3 separate regions of the Homo sapiens genome follow, and all the other regions are linked to region 3. Evidence: promoter capture Hi-C in human tissues and cell types (Jung and others, 2019). All regions are on one chromosome and are shown on one strand. The core of a region is centred on a gene start or on the middle of the fragment in contact, and the rest is flanking DNA. Distances in the headings are between cores, read along the strand shown. Region 1 has its middle 55 kb from the start of CDKN2AIP. Region 2 overlaps WWC2 (WW and C2 domain containing 2). Region 3 holds the start of CLDN24 (claudin 24).

Region 1 (3,228 bases), core at 657-3,156, 67 kb before region 3:
TTCTCCACCTGGGGTCCCTTCCTCTTTGTTGCTTACTTATCTTATCAGGACTCCACAACTAATTCCCCTCCAGTAAAGCCAAATCCACAGCCATTACTGCCAACCCTCATGACAAATGCAAACTGTTGACAATCAGATTGACAACAGTAAGCACTGATTATTAATGCTCTTGGAAGGGGGAGGTATAGAGTGTAACACTGTTTACACTCTATCCACCACAATTTATCTACTAACGAGAAAGAGGAAAATGATTTGTACTACTAAATTAGAAAAGACAAAGAAAAAGAAAGGAAGGAAGGGAAGGAAGGAGGAAGGAAGAAAGAGATGGAGGGAGACAGAAGAACAGGGATTAAATTGTAGTTTGATCTGGCAAATTTAGTGAGGAAATGAAGTGAACAAGATTAGATTTAACACAGATAGTCCCTGATTTACTATGGTTTGACTTACGAGTTTCAGCTTTACAGTGGTGCAAAAGCAATACGCATTCAGTAGCTCCTCCACTTACCATGAGATTACATCCAGGTAAACCCATGGTAAGTTGGAAATATTTTATATAAAAAATGCACTTTTGATTTAGCATAATGTAATCCTAGCATAAGTGTATAGGTTAATGTAAGGTAATGCACCTGGGGAGAAATAATATTCCACAGATATCTAACAGGGAAGGCTGCTGTTTAAGAAACAGCAATGTAGTTTCCTCCTTCTTTCGAAGAAGGAGTAATAGTGAGTAATTACTTAGGGTACATATGAGCCCATAACATCACCACTGCGAAAAAGGACTGATGCTGTCTTAGGCTGTATGTACAAAAGGATCTCTTAGAAAATAGAAGTGGTAATAAGTGATAAAGGAAACCCCTGAGGCCAGGCGTGATGGCTCACACTTGTAATCCAAACACTTTGAGAAGCCAAGGTGGGAGGATCACTTGAGCCCAGGAATTTGAGGCCAGCCTAGGCAACATAAGGAAACTCGCTCTCTACAAAAAAATTTAAAATTAGCCACTGTCATGATGCATGCTTGCAGTTCCAGCTATTCGAGAGGCTGAGGCAGGAGGATCACTTGAGCCAGGAGGTTGAGGCTGGAGTAAGCCAGGATGGCACCACTGTAGTCCAGCATGGGTGACAGAGTGAGACCCTGTCTCAAAATTATTAATTAATTAATTAAAAAAGAAATTGTGCCTTAATTGTTCTTGTGAGTGAACGAAGACGGCTCACCTTCCCGAAGGCGTCAGTGGCTTCCTCAGAGCCAGATGCCGCTCTCCAAGGCCACGCTTCAGTCTGGTTCCAAAGAGCATTGCTGCAAGTGGGTTGGAACGCTGGTGCCTTACCCCACATGCCCTGCCCCCTCTTGCAGATTCAGGCTTGCTCGTCCACATTCTGCTTCTGCTGGGTGTCATTCTCCTTTCCGTCCCTGCTACTCTCTCAGAATGCCTGCCCCGGGTTGGCCACAGCTTGTTCCACTTCTTTTTTTTTTTTTTTTGAGACAGAGTCTTGCTCTGTCACCCAGGCTGGTTCAGCGGTGCGATCTTGGCTCACTGCAAGCTCCACCTCCCAGGTCGAAGTGATTCTCCTGCCTCAGCCTCCCGAGGAGCTGGGACTACAGGCGCCCATCACAGCATTCCGCTAATTTTTTTTTTTTTTTTTTTTTTTTTTTAGTAGAGACCAGGTTTTACCATGTGGGCCAGGCTGGTCTCGAACCCCTGACGTCAGGTGATCTGCCCACCGTGGCCTCCCAAAGTGCTGGGATTACAGGCATGAGCCACCGCGCCCGACCTGTTCCACTGCTTTCTGTGGTTTCAGGCTGCCCCTCACTGGCCTCTTGCTGCAAATCTGCGGGCAGCTCGGCCATAACACAGACCATCGTGGGAAGCTTGGGGCTCAGGTGGCTATGGGGTCTCCGATGAACATTTTACTACAGGGCGCTAGTCCGTTTATACTTCATGTTCCTTGTTTCCTTTTTTTAATTGGTCGCAATTATTAAGAAACATTACCCTGAAAGACACACTGTGATGTGACTGTTGAGTTGAAAACAAGGACCAAATAATATTCTAAACTGAGAATCTTGCTTAACTTCTTCCAAAAGAGGTAACTCAGCCATAACAGTGAAAAATATGATCTTCTGGACTTGTTAGCAGAACAGACCACTGAGGCTTACTCTCTGATGCCTGAAGCAGTCAGGCTCCTGGAGAGTTTGGGCTAACCTGGCCCTCACCCCTCCAAACGTCATTCCCCTTCCAAAAGAGGATTTCTCAAACTCTGGGAGAGGAAAATCGCCAGAGGACTCCTCAATCCTCTGAATATTTTCATAGCTTTTACTCTGTCAGCTTTCAACAGGAGTTCTACAGGCATTTTGCGTGGGAAAGTTCTCGGTTGTGAAGGACTGTCTGGCACATTGTCGAACATCAGCATCCCTGTACTGCACACAGTAAATGCCAGTTTGTAGCCTAAGGCAGATAACAAATGCTGCCATACATTTCCAGGCACTCCCTGAGAGGAAGGTGCTGCTTATGGTTGGAAACCATTGGCGGTGCCTGGGGCCAGAGTGTGAGAGCAAACTCTCCCACGCCTTTGTGAAGCTCAGGGCTTTGGAGACAGCCTCCACCTATTTGAGGGTCCCTTCTATGATTATTGAGTTGTGGTGTATAAGCTTCCAGCGAAATGGCTAGGCTAAATACACACTCTGTAAATATTTGCTAATTAATTGTCATGTCTTGCTTATTATTATATGCTCATCGAGACCAGAAATTTCACATCCTCTATGTTGTGAAAAGCCCTAGGAAGACTTAATGCAATGCCATGCTACTGGGAAGCACTCAGGAAATATTAATTGCTATTGATGAAAGGAGCGACTACTTTAATTCAGATGCAAACAATCAAAAAGGGCTAACTCCCCTTGGCTCTGTGCCTTGACTGCATTTGGAGAGACTGATTAATATAGGCCTGCAGCTAACTAATTGTCTCTCCATCTCTGTCATGTTACCTGAACTTGGGTGCATTCAGGTCACCCAGCAGTTGTGTGGGTGGGTGAGAACATTTCTCGAGCTGTAGCCAGAGAGCCAGACGATCTGCAGCAGCGCTAGACTTGTAAGAATGGAAAACTTCGTAAATATCCCAAAGTAGTAGAGAAGAACCAGGCCAGGTCAGGCCAGGTCAGGCCAGGCCAAAAGATAGGGGCATCCCGAGAGGCTGGGGGGCCACAGGGTGAGGTATGTGTTGCAAATCCCAGAACCT
Region 2 (3,329 bases), core at 757-3,256, 95 kb after region 3:
CCCCAGTCTGTGACAGTTCCTCACTTTCTTGTCTTTAATGACCTATTCATTTATGAAGAGCACTAGTCAGATGTTTTATAAAGTGTACTCCTATTTGGGTTTGCCTGATACTCTCTCATAATTAGATTGAGATGATGGATGCTGGAAAAGAATACCACAGAGGTGACATGCCCTTCTCATCTAATGATGTATGAGTATATGCTCTCCACATGACTCATCCCTGGTGATGGAAACATTCATCAATTGGTTCCAGTGGGATCTGCCAGGTTTCTATAGTATAAATCACCTGTTTTTCCTTTCCATACTCTATTTGTCAGGAGATACTCACTGGATCCAGCCCAAATTCAAGAAGAAAGAGGTACCAAAATTAGCAGACATGTTCAAACCACCAGGGTTAAGTACTACAAAGTTGAGGGGAGATGCTTTGAAGCAATGCAAATATCCTCTTTTTCAAAGTTTTACTCACTAATTTTAGCAAAGAACATTCATATATGTTTGACCCATTATTTAGAAGTGTATTACTCTAGAGTTCCAAATTATGTAGCTTCCAGGTTTCTTAGAAGTACAACATACACACTGAAAGTAAAAAAACTTTAAGCGTAGCAACTCAGCGAGTGTCCTCGAAGTAGCAACAGCCAGGTAATGGCCAACAGCTGAAGAAACAACACATTATCAGAATCCTAGAAGCCACTCTTGTGCCCTCCAAATTACTAAACCTTCCCTTTTCCCTAAAAGTAACCATTATCTCAACGTTTAGGCCTGTAAATAGTTTTGTCTTTTCTGAACTTAATATAAGTGGACTCATACAGTGTGTACTCTTCTGTGTCTAGCTTCACCCACTCAACACTGTGCTGCTGCATGCAGTTGTGTACGTTGATTTGCATTGCTAGATGAGCTTCTACTGCATGACCATACACAATGCATTCATCCATTAGGCTACAGACACATACTTCCAGACACAGGCTACACACTACAAACACTCTACTCTAGGGTGGAGCTGCATGGTAGCAGGTGTGCATGCACACGTTCAGCTTTATTAGGAAAGGCCAGTTTCCCACCAGCAGTAAAGAGTTCCAGCTGCCCCACATCCTTAACGACGCTTCATATTGTTCGTCTTTTGGATTTTAGCTTTTCTGAAAGGTGGGAAACAGCTTTGTTGTTATTTTTTAAATGAATTTCTAACAAATTCACTACAGAGAATGTGGTCTAACCAATACTTTGAAATATATTGAAACAAGTCTAATGGCCCAAATATGGTCAGTTTTCCTGAATGTGCTAAATGTGCTTGAAAAATATTTTTGCTTCCCATTTTTCCCCACCCCAATATAGCATAGGCTCCATGTTGTATACATTAATTAAATAAAGCTTGTCAACCACGTGTATTTACCTATTCTATACTAATTTTTAAATCTGCTTGATCTATCAAATACCAAACGTTATATTGGAATCTCTCACTATGATTGTGGATTTTCTGCCAATTTTTGCTTTATATATTTTGGGGCCCACATTTTAACGGACACATTACAGACTCATGGTCCTTTTTCTTCGGTAAAGCATTTTGCCATAAAATCTATCACTTCTGACATTAACAAAGCTTTATTTACTTATTTATTTGTGTATACCAGCGTTTTTCTGTTAGGATTTGATTGGTATATCTTTTTCTTCCCGTCCTTTTAACTTTTCTGTATCTTTGTTGTTAGGTGTCTCTTTAAGTATCATATAGGTAGATTTTCTTTCCAAATCCAGTCTTTTAACCATTGTATTTTTAACTAGAGCATTTAATCCAATTACACTTAATTCTAATTATTGATACACTGAGATTTACGTTTATCATCTTATATTAGACTCATTTGCCCTGTATTTTTTATTCTTTTCTCTCCTCTCCTGCTTTCTGTAGTAATATAGTGAACAACTGATGCCATACATTACTCTCAAATTTTGTCTGAAAATGTCTTTATTTCACCTATATGTATGGAAGATGTTTTGCTGTGTATAACATTCTGGTTAATGGTTATTTTCTCATAGAACACTGAAGGTATAAGAAAACACGATTGGTATGAAAAAATAAGCTATTACTTGCTAATTTTGGACCTTTGCAAATAATTCCCCACCAGCTTTGATTTTTAATTCATTACGTGATTAATTTGTAGAACTTCTACTTAGTTTGTTTCCGTATTTTCTTGATAATTTTCATGGTATCTTCCTTACTTATATTTCCAATCTCTTTTTTTATTTCTTAAAAACATGTTAAACATGGATATTTTGTATTTTCTCTAATTTCTCAAAAATCTCAAGCATCTGAAGATCAAATTCTATTGTCTGTTCTTTTTATCCTGCCAGTTCTTTGTTCTCTGTACATCTGTGATTTGGGCTATGCGTTCATACTTTCCTACTGAAAGCACTAGTTGAAGGTGTATTACTCTGGAGAAGACGTGCATCTGCAAGTGACTGGAGGCACAACCATCTGTCACTGCTTCAACTGTCACAGCTAAGTGTTTAGCTTGGGCTTTTTCAGACCATCCAGGTAAATGTGAATTCAGGGGTATCTGATGGTGATAAATCCAACGGTCCCAATGTTTTTTTTCCTCCTTTATCTACCTAGCATTGTTGCTCTAGATAGGCAACCTTTCTTGCTGTCTTCAACAAGTAGTGGTGGTGGTGGTGGGAGGTATGCTAGGGTGGTTGGGCTGGCTGAATTTAATTCTAGTATTCTTACACTGAAGGTTTAGTGACTGTCTGAGTCCCCACTTGATGCAGCTGGGGTCTGTCACCATGAGACCAAGAAAGGGACACAATAGAAGGGAATATGCACCTAGCTTATCAAATTTCCTCAGGGCAAAGCCAGCTTTAGTGTTCTGCTTACTATTCTGAGTTCTGAACCCGGTGTACAGTCTCTATGAAATCTTTCTTTCTACCTTATCCAGACTTGCATTTATCTTCATTTATATTACATTCACAATTTTTAGTTATCACTAGAAGGAGACATACAGTGTGGACATATTGTCCACTGAATGGTTGGATAAAAAAAGTCCCCTAATGTTGGCTTTTTGGTGCTTTCTCTCTTCTCTTCTTGTGAAATCCTGACAAAGCCTGATTTGGTGTTTTTTGTTTGTTTGTTTTCTAGCTTTTAAATATTGCAGAGCTATTCTATTGTAACCATTTTAAAATTTTCATTAATTATTGTCTTTATCTCTATTTCTCCCTGTCTTCTTTCAGTTTAGTCTGTTCCTTAAGATTTTTAATGCAAAGCTTAGTTATTATTAGTATTCTTCTTTAAGCCTATATAAATTCCCTACTAAAAACTGCTTTAGTTGCAGCCTACAAAATTT
Region 3 (2,935 bases), core at 125-2,624:
TTTTTTCTTTTTAAACTTAAGATGATAGGAAAAGCTGAAGAAAGTACCACCTCAAATCTACATCTTATGCAATCTTATCCAAAGTAATTTGGATACATCGGGATCCATGTTCTGTCTCTCCGATCTCCTATTTAGAGACACAATAGAAGATAATTTCTGATCCTGGGCTACACTCCACTGTTGCAACGTGATGGGCAGTGGTTCTACTTCTCCAGGTTAGAACCTCTCAGGGGAGTGGCTCCACCTTTAGGGACTTTTCTGTCCTGTGGGCCCATCTGATTTTATCTCCTCTGAGCAGGTGCAGGATGCCCAGGGGCCATGTGGAGAGGAGACGGTGCAGCCCTGGGAATCTGGGGCAGGTGACCTCTTGTCCTGGCCTGTGAGGCCGGTCCTGTGTTCTCTGAGGGGTCAACCCTCTGCGTAAGTATGCTCTCAAGGTGTGGCCTCAACCAAAAAAATAAACAAGATGAAGCCTCGAAGTTCAGCTCCATTGTGGCTATTGTGTTTGTACCAGAGACTTTTGTCTGGGAGCTGGCAGGAGTCTTGAAGCCTGGTGTTGCTCTGCGTAAGCTGCTGAAATGACAAGGGGACAGCTCAGCTCTGGACAAAAAACACCTCCCTGGACGCTAAGATATCATGCTTTACCCCCAAGTCCTTAACGAGGATGGAGAAAACCACAGAGTGAATGCTGGAACTGCCCGGGACGTTCCCTTCCGCACTCAGTAGCCCCCAGCATCAGCCTCAGTCCTTTTCATTTTAATCAGTCCCGTAAGCCAGCCTCTACCTTTCAAAGGAATCCGAGGAACCTTCCTGCCAACTCTGAGCTCCTGCGACACTCGAGGATGTGGGCCAGGCTCTTGTGTAGGTTAAGGAAGTCTGAGAAGAATAGAGATTATAGGAAACAGTCTACCTTTCTTTACAAGACCTTGTTTTGCATCCCTGAAATTTCAGATTCAGCTCTTACAATGAAGTCCTGTTGTAGAAAGAGCTGGCCTTTTATCACCACTTAAAATCTAATTAATCCATACTGAAGCACAAAGATTTCTGTTGTATTTTAGGGTGAGGGGTCATAGAGCCCTCTTTGTTCATCCTTAGACTTATAATCATCAAGCATTGGGGATATAATTTTACCAAATTGGAAGGTAACAGATCAAGTCCTTATCAGAAAGCCCAACTCATAGTTTTAACAGAGTCCTTCGTCCTTTACGTGAAACATTATATTCAAGAAGAACAAAAACGCATTTCAGAGTGCCCAAAGAGTTAATGACCACAGCTTATATTCCAGGCAGCATAGAACCAAGATTGTCACATTACCGTCAACCACAAAGGACAGCAGATCCTATAGGGGTGGCAAAGTCCTAAGACCTGTCGCAATGGCTTTAATCTTTAGAACAGCAATGCAATCTGTTGGACTTTTACTATCTCTCCTGGGATGGATTTTATCCATTATTACAACTTATTTGCCACACTGGAAGAACCTCAACCTGGACTTAAATGAAATGGAAAACTGGACCATGGGACTCTGGCAAACCTGTGTCATCCAAGAGGAAGTGGGGATGCAATGCAAGGACTTTGACTCCTTCCTGGCTTTGCCTGCTGAACTCAGGGTCTCCAGGATCTTAATGTTTCTGTCAAATGGGCTGGGATTTCTGGGCCTGCTGGTCTCTGGGTTTGGCCTGGACTGTTTGAGAATTGGAGAGAGTCAGAGAGATCTCAAGAGGCGACTGCTCATTCTGGGAGGAATTCTGTCCTGGGCCTCGGGAATCACAGCCCTGGTTCCCGTCTCTTGGGTTGCCCACAAGACGGTTCAGGAGTTCTGGGATGAGAACGTCCCAGACTTTGTCCCCAGGTGGGAGTTTGGGGAGGCCCTGTTTCTGGGCTGGTTTGCTGGACTTTCTCTTCTGCTAGGAGGGTGTCTGCTCAACTGCGCAGCCTGCTCCAGCCACGCTCCCCTAGCTTTGGGCCACTATGCAGTGGCGCAAATGCAAACTCAGTGTCCCTACCTGGAAGATGGGACAGCAGATCCTCAAGTGTAAGACTCCGACAAGGCCAGAGATGTATCCTGTATCAACTGTGATGACAAAGACCTCTTTGTTTTGTAGCTAAACCTGTGATGCTCACGTTTTCTCATTCACTATTTTTCTACAGTAGGTAGACCCACTTCCCTCTAAAATCTGAATAATGAAGGAAAAATCTTTTATCTAAAAGAAAATGATTATGGTAAGCATTATACAGGTAGAAGTGAAACAAGCTTCATTGATCTGGTTATTGAAATTAATGTGGTGGCTGTCCAATACAGTCAGTTTCAAGCTTTAATGTGTAAATTTCATATTAGAAAGCTTTTTTCTGTTTTTCTTTTTTTTGTTGTTGCTGTTGGTAGTCAGAAATGATCTTTAGTTTCTGTTTCCTAAAGAAAAAAACTAACAATCTGAAAATTTTAAGTGTTCTACTTTAGCAAAACCACATGCTAAGCCAACCTCAAAGTGTTATTTCCACAACAATGACCTTTTTCTTCTTTGAACAGAAGTGGTTTGTTTTTAGGATATTACCAGGCACTCAGTGCGGCAAGATTTTATGAGGCTGAAGAGTTTTCAGTACCTTGTGATCCTCTCAGATTTAAAATGGTGGCCAATCTCTTCTCTCATCCTTTCCCTCAAAACCTTCGTATTAAAAAAAGAAAAACAATTCCAAAGACATTTTTCTTGATATCCTGATATTGTCAGGTCATTTGAATAAAACCTTTCCTTTGTTCAATGAAAAATCGCTAACATGGGGATATCTACTTTAGTGGTGAATAAACAGAAATGCTGACTCCAACCTGCAGAGTCCAAATGCTGAACTTTCCTCGGCACAGAAAGCATATATAAGAAAAAAAAGTGTTTATGCACACAAGCGTGAATTTGACAGAAAGGCATGCAGATAAATAAACTAGATC

Evidence for each region. Contacts are between HindIII fragments. The study calls those that stand out against the background at their distance.
Region 1: a contact is called between a fragment that was not itself captured here and the fragment with the promoter of CLDN24 in region 3, in 2 of the 25 tissues and cell types used here (H1 embryonic stem cells and aorta).
Region 2: a fragment that was not itself captured here is called in contact with the fragment with the promoter of CLDN24 in region 3 in 2 of the 25 tissues and cell types used here (heart left ventricle and mesenchymal stem cells).

Annotation. Positions count from the first base shown.
Region 1 is chr4:183,388,181-183,391,408 of GRCh38, reverse strand. No RefSeq gene overlaps it. Among named protein-coding and RNA genes, the nearest start is that of CDKN2AIP, 55 kb to the left of the region's middle. The HindIII fragment of the contact is 6,122 bases long and covers 1-3,228 here.
Region 2 is chr4:183,226,450-183,229,778 of GRCh38, reverse strand. All of the region lies in intron 4 of WWC2 (WW and C2 domain containing 2), which reads right to left. Among named protein-coding and RNA genes, the nearest start is that of WWC2-AS1, 13 kb to the left of the region's middle. The HindIII fragment of the contact is 3,146 bases long and covers 434-3,329 here.
Region 3 is chr4:183,320,865-183,323,799 of GRCh38, reverse strand. CLDN24 (claudin 24) reads left to right here and starts at 1,374. Exons shown (of 1, transcript NM_001185149.1): 1 at 1,374-2,036. The coding sequence starts at 1,374. The coding sequence ends at 2,036. The HindIII fragment of the contact is 4,220 bases long and covers 1-2,935 here.